Linked DNA regions of Homo sapiens: all the other regions are linked to region 3. The links are contacts of gene promoters, found by promoter capture Hi-C in blood cells and fetal thymus (Javierre and others, 2016). All regions are on one chromosome and are shown on one strand. Each heading gives the region's core, a stretch centred on a gene start or on the middle of the fragment in contact. The rest is flanking DNA. Distances are from core to core; before and after follow the strand shown. Region 1 has its middle 14 kb from the start of SAYSD1. Region 2 has its middle 11 kb from the start of SAYSD1. Region 3 holds the start of KCNK17 (potassium two pore domain channel subfamily K member 17).

The links. Contacts are between HindIII fragments. The CHiCAGO score rates a contact against its expected background, and 5 or more counts as called.
Region 1: a fragment that was not itself captured here is called in contact with the fragment with the promoter of KCNK17 in region 3 in 2 of 17 cell types (activated CD4 T cells and megakaryocytes); the score reaches 5.4 in activated CD4 T cells.
Region 2: a fragment that was not itself captured here is called in contact with the fragment with the promoter of KCNK17 in region 3 in 2 of 17 cell types (megakaryocytes and monocytes); the score reaches 5.2 in megakaryocytes.

Annotation. Positions count from the first base shown.
Region 1 is chr6:39,098,873-39,103,352 of GRCh38, forward strand. No RefSeq gene overlaps it. Among named protein-coding and RNA genes, the nearest start is that of SAYSD1, 14 kb to the right of the region's middle. The HindIII fragment of the contact is 1,803 bases long and covers 1,508-3,310 here.
Region 2 is chr6:39,124,073-39,128,443 of GRCh38, forward strand. No RefSeq gene overlaps it. Among named protein-coding and RNA genes, the nearest start is that of SAYSD1, 11 kb to the left of the region's middle. The HindIII fragment of the contact is 1,899 bases long and covers 1,174-3,072 here.
Region 3 is chr6:39,311,700-39,315,668 of GRCh38, forward strand. It overlaps KCNK17 (potassium two pore domain channel subfamily K member 17), which reads right to left and starts at 2,720. Exons shown (of 5, transcript NM_031460.4): 1 at 2,385-2,720. The coding sequence starts at 2,621. LOC105375047 (a long non-coding RNA gene) reads left to right here and starts at 2,257. Exons shown (of 3, transcript XR_926774.3): 1 at 2,257-2,525. It also overlaps a transcript of KCNK16 not described here. The HindIII fragment of the contact is 16,119 bases long and covers 1-3,791 here.

The DNA.
Region 1 (4,480 bases), core at 1,159-3,658, 210 kb before region 3:
CATACACACATACACAACAACAAGTTGGAGGAAATAATAGAAGAAAAGATCTACTGAACTTAATAGCAAAAGATAAAATAACCAGGAATAACAGGGAATAGTAAGATCAATATAAAGCAAACTTGAAAATGCAACTGAGGGACAGTAAAAGAGGCTTAAACAAATGGTAGCATACCGTATTCTTGAACAGTAAAACAATAACTTATAGGTGCTTCTTCTCCTTAAGTTATCTGTAAATTTAATGTGAAACTAATGAAAATATCAAGAGAAATTTTGGGGACCTGGTCAAGTTAATTCTAAAGAACTCAGGGAGAAAATAAACATGTTAAGTGTAAGTTTTAAAAAAGAAAGCAAAAATAAGAGTAATAAAGAGGTGTCTAGCCCATTCAGATTTTAAAACACACTAAAGAGCTACAATAATAAAAAGTGAAAAAGCTGTCAGATCAAAAGAACAGACCAGAAAGCCCAAAATAGATACAAATACACAAGAAATGTGGTATATGATACAGAAGGGTTTTAAATTAGCAGGAAAGAGATGGGTTATTTAATAAATAAACCTGAGGGAACTAGATACCTGAACAAATAGATGCCTGAATAAATAAAGCTGGATCCCTATCTGTAACCCCACTCCAAACTAAATACTATAGATAAAAAACTTAAATATAGAAAATGAAAGCAATGGGTAAACATGGAAATTTTTTTGCCGTATGACAAAAACCCAGGTCATAAAATACATAAATTTGACAACAAAAAATTTCCACACAGAAACAAAAACGGCAACAAGTTTGAACAAATTGAGCAAAAATATTTGAAATGCATAATTCAAAGAGCCAATTTTCTTCATTTATGAAGAGTTCCTAAATGAAATTTTAAAATTCCCAAGAACTCAACAGAAATCACGCAAAAGCTAAAAGAGTTCACAGATAAATACAAATGGCTCACAAATTTATAGAAAGATGTTCTCCCATAATAAGAAATTTAAATTAAAACTATGAGGTGTCATTTCACTTCTCAGATATTGGCAAAGTACAGAAAGTTGGGAAAACACCCTGTGTTGGTGAGGATATGAGGAAATTGGCATTTTCATACATTGCTGGTAGGAATGTAAATAAGAATCACTTCTACGCAGGGCAACATCTATCAACATTTTCAGTCAAATATCCTTTTGCCAGCAAATCTAATTCTAAGACATTATCCCAGAGAAGTATTCCCATATGTCGAAATGACATATGTGCAAGGATATTTGTTGTACATTGTTTGCAACAACAAAAGATTAGAAACTACCTAAATATACATTAATGGAGACTTGTTGAGTTATAATCTATCCATACAATGGTACACTCTGTAGCTGTGAAAAAGCAGGAAGCAGCTCTATTTGTGCTGATGTAATTATTAAGAAATATTGTTTGCTCAAAAAGCAAGAGGCACTCAATATTCCTTTCTGGAATTGCCTCTCATCAATTCCTTTTATTTGTTCCTAAACATCCAAGTCTTCAGAATGCATCCAAGCTTGTTATTCTCCTTCATGATTATCACCTTTCTCCCAGGTGGTTTTCTCTGACCAAAATGCTACTTTTTGCCCCCACCTTCTTTTTTGGGGGAGTACCTAGTCCTCCTTTAAACTCAGCACAGTGTCATTGCCTCCAGGAAGCCTTTCCTGACCTGTGATTTAAGATCCTCTTTTGATGCTGTGGTCCTCGTTCAGACGACATACTCAGTGTGGCTTACCACACTGCACTGTAACTGTCTGGTTATTGGCTACCTCCCCCATTTGCTGTGAGCTCCTTGAGAAAAGGAACCTTGTCTGCCTTATGTCTGTATGAGCTACGCCCAGCACCAGGACTGGCAAAGTTTAGATGCTCTGTAAATGGATAGATGGATGGATGAATGAATGACATAGATAATCTACTCCCCACCATAGCGTGGATGATCTTTTAGAAATGAAAATTGGGGGCCGGCTGCAGTGGCTTATGCCTGTAATCCCAACACTTTGAGAAGCCGAGGTGGGCAGATCACCTGAAGCCAGGAGTTTGAGACCAGGCAGGCCAGCATATAGTGAAACCCCATCTCTACTAAAAATACGAAAATTAGCTGGGTGTTGTGGCACATGCCTGTAGTCCCAGCTACTTGGGAAGCTGAGGCAGGAGAATTGCTTGAACCTGGGAGGCAGATCATGCTACTGCACTCCAGCCTGGGTGACAGAGTGAGACTCTGTCTCTCAAAAAAAAAAAAAAAAAAAAAAAAGTAAATTGGATCATATCACTCCCTTACATAAAAACTTCAAATGCACATAAATAAAACTCAAACTCCTAAGAAAGAAAAAGAAAGCAAGGGAAAGAATAGCGTGTTTAGAATGGTGTCATTTGCAGGCTTGAGAAAGAACAAACATGGCAGGGTGGAGGGAGATGTTCTCACTATACACCCCATGTACCTCTTGGCTTCTAAAATATATGCATAGAAGTACAACAATATTTTATTCCTTCCTGTATTTCCAAAATGTTCTAAAATGAGCATGTACTTCTTGTTGTAATCATTTAGAGAAAACCTCAAAAATAAAGGACTTAATTTCCACGTAGTCTTTGGAGTTAGCTCCTCATTGTTTTAAAGCTATGTTTCTTCGTCTCTCGCTTTGGTGTTCCAAATGAACAGTTTGAAAAATAGCAAGCCTCATTGCTCCCTTTAAAAATGCACACCAATTTTCTTTGCTTGGATCTAATAATCACTAAATTTTCTTCCTATTTTAACATTTATTGTTTACGTCAGCGGCTCTTAATCTTTATTGTGCCAGAGATCACACCTGGGAGGCTGTTAAAATGCAGATTCTCAGGATTCTACCCTCAGACATTCTGAGTCAGTGGGGGCCCTGGAATCTGCATTTTAACATTACTACAGGAGATTCCTATGCAGGTGCGTGGTCTATAGACCATACTTTTCAAAACGTTCATCCATGACTTGTTAAGGAAAGAGTATTTTTCACATAGAAGTGAAAATCCTATATAGTATAGAATTTAGGACTGCAAGTGATCTCTCCCTTGAACACACACACACACACCTTACACCTTTATAAACATTCACATTATGTCCTGTACTTTATAATACAGTTTGTGTGCACTCATCTTGTCTTCTCTCTCAGATTTTTGAGAATGGGATCCAAGTCTTTATGTAGCCTAGTGCTCCAAAGTTGTGAAATAAAATTATGTGTGATAGAAACCAAAGCATATGGTTCAAAAGTTACTTTCTTTGGCTTAGGGAGTTGGTTTTCTCTGCCAACTATGTAAATTCTTAGTCATTCCACCTCCCCTTCCCGCAAAGCTTAGCTATGTGCAAGCAACTGTAACACTGCCTGCTAAGTCTAGAGAGGGGCTGCTGTTTTATTTTTAAATACATATATAAATCACTTCTGGTAGCTTTCTATGCCTTTCCCAGGACCTCTGATGGGCCCTTTCCTCTGTGAGTTTTAAACTGAAAAAAACATCTGAAAAAGCAGCACAAGCGGTTGAGATAAACATCCCAGAGGGTTTTCCACATTACGTAAATTTTCAAGTGTGATGTGAAGGGACCCGTGAGGTATAGTGGCAGCTCTACGCCACCGCCTGGCGGCAACATGCTTCATGACATCCCAACCCCACCCCTGCATCCCCGGGCTCTTAGGGACGCTCATCCTATGCAGGAGCTCATATGTGTGTGTCCCCAGCAGCGCCAAATCCAGGGCATCTACAAATATTTGCTGGTATGAGTGGCAGGAACTAAAAACACACAGCTCGAATTTTGATGTCTTCTGCCCAACTGAGGGTCACTGGTTCTTTCAATTCTGTAACTTTCTAAGATTTTGCAGCACAGAGCTTTTTGATTGACGCACAGATCAGTCAAAAGGCAAATGTGAAAGACAGCCTATACTCAAAGCATAACTCTAATAGCACAAAATACACATGCCTAAGTCATCACTGGCAAAGCTCCAAAGCTTTTGAGAAAGATCATTATACCCATCCACAGGGCCACTCACCCCCACCCAAACCTGAAACACTTAGAATAGGTCAGGGCTAGCATGAAAGTGATTGAGTCCCAGAGGTATAGCTCAATGACTTGGCCTAAAGAGCAGAGAGAAAAGAGAACTGAGTAAAGGTTTACCAGTGTGAAGGATGCTCACATAGGCCTCCAGGGACTCCACATCCACTGAGATTAGGAGACAAAATAACCCCAGATGGCGGGGATGGGGGTGGCAAAAGTTCTTTCAGTAAACATAAAGAACTTCCTAGGAAGTACCTGGAATCTTCTTTAGGGGTTCACTAGAAACAAATTATCTTTAGTTGGGAATAAATGATGGCCCTGCCCAAGGTTGGGGGTGGGGAACACACTTGATGGTATTTTGGGGTCCCTTCCAACTTTAGATGTAGAGTCTTGTTGAACAGTCCCTATCAATAGGCAAGATGGGATAATGTGAATAAAAGCAAAAACCAAGTTACTTGTTAGACTTGGACAC
Region 2 (4,371 bases), core at 873-3,372, 190 kb before region 3:
TATTTCACATTTACAAAACCCCTACCTTGATGTTTGAAGCAAGCAAAACAGGACTTTAGACTGTCACCAAAGAAGATATTTGGAAATGGTAATAAAGAAGTTAAGAGAGAGGATGGGAAGCAGAGGGCTATAGTGCTTCAACTGAAGCAGCCTGCTTTGCACTGCTGCTGCTGGACTGCTGCTGGCAAGGTTTTTTAGCTCTCACTTTATCTTGAACTCTGCAGAGGTCAGAGTCCTAGAATAACTGATTCAGTCATTCTATGAGTCTGTCCTCCAAGGAATTTAGAGACCATTTAGTCAGCAAATATTGATGGAACACCTGTTATATGCCAGGCCCTGGACCAGGCTTTGAGGATGCAGACATGAATAAAATACAGTCCTACTGTTAGGAATTCAAGGTATAGTTAGAGAGACAGACTCACTGATAGACAGTTATAACACAGAGGTCTGGGGAACAGAGGAGGGGCACTAACTCAAGCTGGGAGTTCTTCAGATTCAAATATGGGGAAACTGAGGCCCAGAGAGGGAAAGCTGATGAGATGATATAATTCATGGGCATTGCTATAGACATTAAATATTTCTGGTGATAGTTTGATGCTTTATAATTATCTTTTGCATGAAAGGTAATGGTTCATGACCCTTCTGCCCCCACTTACTCTTGGCTTTGTGGTTACAACTGCTTTTCCTGACACTTATTGCTGGCTTGAACTTTGCCTTTTTGTAACCCCCCCGTGACTGGGATCTTGTGTTCTGAAAGAGCTCAACAGTCTCTACTATTTGTCCCCATCAGTCTGCCCAATCCTATTACCTGAAGCTTCTCCATTTTCCTCCTCTACATCTCAACTCCCTGTAAATTCCAAGATCTTAGGTTTTGACAATTTCCTAACCACCTGACTTGCCTTATGTCCAAGTTCCATTGTGCTTAGCTCTGATACTCAGAGAAATGCCTCCTGTGGCCTGCAGAACAGATGACCTAAAGCTCACAGGCTTGCAACAAAAATGATCTATATGTAAATCCCATCCCAAAACTCTCCCCCAAACTAACTGAAAGTAGTTGGAGAAGAATCTCTTTGCAGGTTGACAATGCACCTGAAGAAAACCATAGGAATTGTGTGTTTTATAAGAGCCTGCTTCCTCATGATTTTGTATGGGAATAAAGTCAGAAGGAAGGCAAGCTTTTGTCCTATAAAGTCCTTGGAAGAAATGGGCCATTTCACTAAAATACATGTACATACATCCAGAGAAGTATATTTCCTGACTCGAAAAATATCGCCTGCTTAGCCACCTCCTTGGAAGCTCCTGCTTCAGCCTTACATTTCTCTTCAACCATTGACCTTCTAGAGTCTTGACTAAACACCAGGGTTTAGGGCCCAAATATATATATATACACACACATATATATATATTTTAACCTTGAGAACCAGTTGAGTCATTCACTATTAACAACAAATTGGGCTCCTAATAATATCTGGCCTTTGTGGAGTGATTAATGTGTGCCAGACACTGTGCTGACCACTTGAAAATTATTATGTACTTTAATTTTCTCAACAACTCTTCAGGAAGGCATGTGAGCAGATTCCATAGTTTGATGTCACACAGCAAGCAACTAGCAGGACCAGGTTTTGAACCCAGGGAGTCTGACTCCAGAGCAGAGCCCAGGAACCCACTATCCTGTCTATTCTATGTGCAGATCAGTTTCAAGGTTCTGGGAAGACAAACAGGTATAAGTTGTGGTCCTCGAGTTCCAGAAAAACTTATGAAATCATGGAGAAGATGAAACAAGAATGCAAAATGAGAAATAATGCCAGAAACTATTGCTAAGTGTCTTATCAGTGGGACAGACAGAGCAGGAACTTACCAGGTAGAGGAAGAGATCAGTGAGGCAGGGGAGGTCTAAACGACTCCACGGAGAAGCATGGTATTTGGCCTTGAAAGATTGAAAGGACTTAGGTAAGCTGAGAGGAAGAAGTCAACCAAGATAAGAGGACTTTGCACACATGGGTTCAAGTCCCAGCTCTGACGTTATCTACACAATCATAGGAAAGTCACTCATTCTCCTTATTGTTCTATTTCCTTTTTGTAAAGAGAGAATCTCAGGGAAGTGGTATGGAGTAAGAGAGAAAGTACAAATTTGGAACCTGGCTTCAGAGAGGTGGGGAGGGAGGAGTTAATGATTTGGTGAGGGGGGTTTACAAAGTTCTAGTTCTTGACCTAAATAGTGGTTCCATGAGTAAAAATCAACATCCAGGCTAGGCGCGGTGGCTGACGCCTGTAATCCCAGCACTTTGGGAGGCTAAGGTGGGCAGATAACCTGAGGTCAGGAGTTCAAGACAGCCTGGCAAACATGGTGAAACCCCATCTCCACTAAAAATACAAAAATTAGCCAGGTGTGGTGGTGCGTGCCTGTAATCCCAGCTACTCGGGAGGCTGAGGCAGGAGAATCGCTTGAACCTGGGAGACAGAGGTGGCAGTGAGCTGAGATCATGCCACTGCACTCCAGCCTGGGTGACAGAGTAAGACTCTGTCTCAAAAACAAACAAACAAACAAACAAACAAGCAAACAAACAAACAAAAAAACAGGCCAGGCACGGCGGCTCATGCCTGTAATCCCAGCACTTTGGGAGGCCAAGGCAGGCAGATCACCTGAGGTCAGGAGTTCGAGACCAGCCTGGCCAACATGGCAAAACCCCGTCTCTACTAAAAATACAAAAATTAGCTGGTTGTGGTGGGGGGTGCACCTGTAATCCCAGCTACTCAGGAGGCTGAGGCAGGAGAATTGCTTGAACCTGGGAGGCGGAGGTTGCAGTGAGCTGAGATCATACCACTGCACTCCAGCCTGGGCAACAAGAGTGAGACTCCATCTCAAAACAAAAACAAAACAACAACAACAACAACAACCACCACCAAAAACCAACATCCATAAGTGATAACCCATCAAACAGTAAAAGTAAGTACTTAAGTAGCTTCTAATTTTTATTTGTCTGTTTCTTTATTTATAAATGGGGATGATACCTCACAAGAAGACTGATAGAATGAGGTGACCTGATGGGGAGTACCTAGCAGTACACAGGAAGCTTAAAAGGTATGAAACCGGCATAGTCCAAGCTCAGTAGATGACCAAAGTCCTGGGAAGACACAGCGGGAGGAAAAGAAGATCCTCCTATCCCAAAGGAATTGGAATGCATATTGAGAATTGGTGCCTTAATAGGCTTTTAAATTAGGGAAGACACTATTCATCTGAGCTAGTTGAAATTGTTTCCATATTAAAAAAAAAACAACTGATGGGATGGCTTCCTCGCCTGCTTTCTCCCCTGTCTCCCATCACTCTTTTGGGATTATTTGAACCAAAATAAACCTCTTTTTCCAATTATCTTAATAGGGCTTGGGTTAAATATACGCAGTCATTGATATAACTTTGAAGGGGTATTGAGAAGCCTGTCAGCCAGGCTCCCACAGTCTCCACAGTCTATAGGAGACACAGGGATTTCTGTCTACCTCAGAAGAAATCCAGCTGGTCAGGACAATGGACTAAGCCCCTCTGTGAATCTGAGTTCTTCATTAGGAAGCAAATAGTAGGGGGAACTAGATAGCACTTATCTTTGGCTTCAGGCTCCTTCCTCACCCAGAGCTGCTAAAGACATGGAAGGCTCTGTGGTGAGGGATTCCATGGTGGAGGGCCCCATGGTGGAGGATTCCATGGTTGGGGGTTCTATGGTAGACATTTCCATGGTGGAGTGTTCTGTAGTGAGGGGTTACATGTGGTGGGGGGAGTCTCTGATTGGAACCTTCATCATGCCACTACACCTTTCCTTTTCCCACACAAACCCCACTCCCAAGCCCCAGCCTCATTACTTCCCACTGACCACTAATACCCCACCCTTTAGCAATGCTAAACTACAGTTTCTCAAACATCCCAACTTGTTTCCCTTCCTCACATGCCAAGTGCCACTCATCTCACATACTTGGCTTCTACATTTCCTTCTTCAGGAAGCTCCTCAGGCCTTGTTCCTGGGCCTGGCTTTGGTTCTTTCAGATATAATCTCCCAACACGAAGTGCATCCTCTATTGCAACCCTTATCAGCTGTATTACAATGGTCGGTTTACTAGTTGATAGGATATTGTTTCATGTTTCTGAATAGAGACCAAAAATAATAATGAACAAAATAGAAATGTGTGTCTTCCCAGCAGGCATCACATGAGAGTGTTATGGGGCCATGACTCAGGCCCATTCACTCTTGTTGCTCTGCCTCCCTAGGGGGTTGACAACATGGTGCAATTTGGCTCCAAGCTACACCAGAATTCCAACCTGTCCTAATTCCAAAGCCAGCCATCCACAAGCTATGCTGCCTGTGTTAGTGAAGTGTAGCTCAT
Region 3 (3,969 bases), core at 1,470-3,969:
GATGTTCATTCTCATTTGGGTAGGAGCAGAGGCCTCATGGAGAATGGGATGTTTTAGCTGGGCCTTTGAGGGTCAGGTAGGATTGCTTCTGGTGGAAGGATGTTTAGGTAGATGGGACAGCAGTGCAGAAGGTGGGAGGTGAGACTGCCTGGGACCTAGATTAGGGAGACTGGTAAGAAGTGATTGAGGCCAAGCTGTGCTTGGCTTTGCCATGCCAGGGATGAAGTCGCAGGTATCAGCCAAGGTCACTGAGCAAAGGGGAAGTAGGATCAGGTTTGTGTGCTCTGTGGCAGCTGGCAGTATAGAAAGGGTTGACCAGAGGGGAGAGACTCCTGCAGAAGTGAGTGATAGACGGGCCCTGGCCTGTCTCCTGGCACAGGTGGTCCAGGAGGAACAGAGAGGAGATATTCAGAAGCCCAGGCCTCTGGCCCTATTTAGTATGGGCAGTAAAGGAGATGTTGCAGAGGATTGTGAGGGTGTGTGGACATGGGGCAGACAATCGAGATTTAGGACAGGTGGAGAAGCAGGGCTGGGAGGAGGAGGACCACTTGCTCTTGGCCTTGAGGAATTTCAGAAGTTGCATGTCCACATCTGGTGCTCAGAAAGATCTGGGCTGGATACCACATCCTTATTCCTGGAGTTGGCTGAAGCCACAGGAGTGTTGAGGAAGGGGGTGAGGTGGGGGTGGAGGGAGTTGAAGGGAAAGCCCAAAGAGATGACAGCCTGGCTGGGAATCTTGGGAAGCACCCACATCCACAGGTCCACACTGAGGCAGTATTTATGCTGGTTAACAGCTCCAGCTCCTGGCTATGTAGCCATGCATTCGTATGTAACCTCTCTGAGCCTGTTTCTTCACCTCTGAAACAGGATGATAAAAACAGTACCCACCTGTGAGGGTGAAACAGGATGATAAAAACAGTACCCACCTGTGAGGGAGGTGAGACAAATGAATACGGGTAAAGTACCAGCAACAGTGCTTGGCACACGATAAGTGCTGCACAGAGGCATTTACTGTTATTATAATCACCATCATAGCCATCTCCCTGGGCCCAGGCTGCTTGTAGTCGAAGTTCACCACCTTTGCAAGGGTAATGGCAGGCAGCCTCAGCACCAGGACCCAGCAGTCGGGCTGTATTTGCAGAAGTCCGCAGGTGGGGAGCTGGAGGAATCACTTTAGGTCCTTAGTAGAGATAGGCCTGGCCCTGGCTACCTCCTGACCTCACCGAATCGGCCTAGTCCGAGGGTTCAGAACACCACTTCCGCTCCGCGCTGGGTCCCTTCCCACCCTGGCACGGTTCCCTGCCACCTTCCGGGGATTGGCTTTGGACTGGAGACTCTGGACGGATAAGCCACCAGGACTGCAAGACGGGGATTCTGGGCTGGCGCGCAGCTGTCTGGACTCTGGGCTCTTGGACGAAGGGGTGGGGAACCAAGCCAGGACCCAGGACATCAATGCCTCCGCCAAATCGAGCAGCTGCCAGTCTGGCGTCGCTTCAGTCCTAAGATGCGCCACCCCTAGAACCCTCCCCGGCCTCCTCCGCCCTGCTAGGCCCCACCCTTGAGGAGCCTCTGCTCAGATTTACCTCTGAGTCCTCCCCTGAACCCTGCCTTCAGCCTTTCTGGGCAGCCGCGCGGCGGCGGCGCGCCCAGTCCTTGTGTCCGAAGACTCGGAGTAAAGCGGGTTCAGCCAGAGAGCGGCCCTGCGTCCGCCCTCCTCTCGAACCCGGGTCTGCGCACGTCGAGCCCCCTCTCTGCGTTGAGGGTGGCCCCGACCAGCACGCCTCGGGCCCAATCCACCCACCCTCCGGGACAAACGCGCCTTCCCCCAGGCTCCTACGGCCGCGCCCTCGCTCCTGCGCATCCTTAGACCCGGCGCCCCTGCCGTCCCAGCTCCCAGTTCGCAAACGTGCGCCCGGGTTCCCCCTCTGGAAGCGGCCAGGTGTGGCGTTTAGCTCTTTGCCACGGGTGCGGGTGCGACCAACCCCCAAGCAGGCTCAAACGCGCCCTTTCCCGGGTCAGGCCGGGCGGGGCCGGTTACGCGCGCGCCCCCTGCCGTAGTCGTCCTCGCCCCCAAATTTGGATGTGTCCCCAGGCATCTGCCTCCTCACCGGGCCAGCATGCCCTCTCGCCCCCAAGTAGGACTCAGCCCGGCTTCTCGCAGTCCTCTCGCTAGGGCGAGGGTCTTTTCCTCCGAGGTCCCCCAACCCTCTGGTCCCCGCGCAGGAACGCCCACCCCCGTTGTGCCCGCGTCTGCGTTCCCGACGTTTCCCTGAACAGGAAACACCTGACCAGGGCCTGAATAGGCCCCCTCGCCCTCGGCCCGTACACCCCGCGGCCCGCTACCCCATCCCGCCGCGCCCAGGCCGACGCCGCTCGCCCCTGACCCGGATCAGCGAGTCCAGCGCCGGGCGGTCCAGACACGTGAAGTTCTGCAACAGCTCCCACTTGTCGCGCTGGAAGCTGCGGCTGGAGTCCTGCGCCGCGCGGCCCTCCAGCGTCCAGAACACGCCGGTGCCCAGCGCCAGGTAAGCCAGGTAGGCGAGCAGCAGGAGCACGGTGCTGGGCACCGCGCAGCCCCGGACCCTGCCCTCGGGAGCCGCCCGGGCTCGCGGTCGGTACATAGCGGGAGAGGCGGGGAGCCGGCGCCGGGAGCGGTGGACTAGGACCCGGTGGGAGGGAAGGGCCAGGCGTCCAGCTCGTATCTCCTCTCGCAAACGCCTGCTGGTGCCCGGTTTCGCCGGGGAGGAGGAGTGTTGGGGAATGGGACAGCCTGGCCCCACCCAGCCCTGGGATCCAATCCCCGGGACAAAAAGAGGCTCTGAACTGTGGGCATCTGGCCCCGCCTCAAATGTGTGCGGGGTGCCCACCTGCTAGGCCTAGGCCAGGGAGAAGGAGGAAGCTGCTGGGTGACCGCAGGCGCTGAGGGAAGGGGCCCAGAGCCCCCTCACATTTCCTGAAATGAACAATGGGAGGGACTTCTGGAAACCGCACTCAGAGGTAGGAGATAGTAGAGACCAACTTTATTGTCTTGGGGCCCCTGCCTAAGTTCTTGGACTCGGGGGCTATCTCCAAGGACTTGCTGTCTGTCAATCTCAAGACCACCTTGGGTCTCCCACACCTCTGTCCTTTCCTTTGTACCCCAAAAGAGGGACCCCAGCTGATTGCCACTTGTCCATGAGCTTGGGAGGTAAGAGGAGCCTTAACCAAGAGGCTTGTCCACTCCTTGCTTCTGAGAAGGCCCCCGAAATCCCTCTACCTGGAGTGGAGGAAGCGTCTAGGCTGTGTGAAGAGTCCGTGGGTCCTCAGCTTCCCAGTCCTTTCTTGGATATGGGGAAGTCCTGGGGTGTGACTTGGACTCCTCTTGCTGCTGTAGAGCCTCTCCTGGGTCTCCTGCCTGGAGCCGCCTTGGCTCCACAGCCTTGCCTCAGACCTGTGCAGAGGAACCCAGCCACATAGGAGCCCACTTGCTGTTGGATGATGGGAGAGGCAAAGGCCAAAATTTCCAGGCCCCGGGATGGAGTGGTCTAAATCTCTCCTGGTCAGGGATGTTGCAGTCTGGCAGGGGAAAGGCCAGACCTGGAGAATGCATTCCTGAGAGAGGCCAGACGTTCATGGAGCTCACTTTCTGGAAGGATCCTGGGATCTGCTGGCTCTCTGGCTTCCCATGGGGTGTTTGGAAAGGCTCTTGAGAAGGCAGGAGCCCAGAGGGAGTGATGAAGTTAAGGGGGTGGCCTGTGAGGGTCAGGGGAGGCCATGTTCAGGAAAGTGGGTAGGACACCCAAGAGGTCCTAAGCTTTGTTCACAGACAGCCCTGGACTTCTAGGCAAGGGGAGCTGGCGAGCTTTGAGAGGCAGCTCGCCTGCCCCTCGGCTGAGAGCTTCCTGAGGGCAGAGATCCTCTTTTCACTAAGATTGTTCCAAAGTCTCTGCCCAGGTCTCCCCTCTCTTTGATGCTCCCTGCCAGCCATTC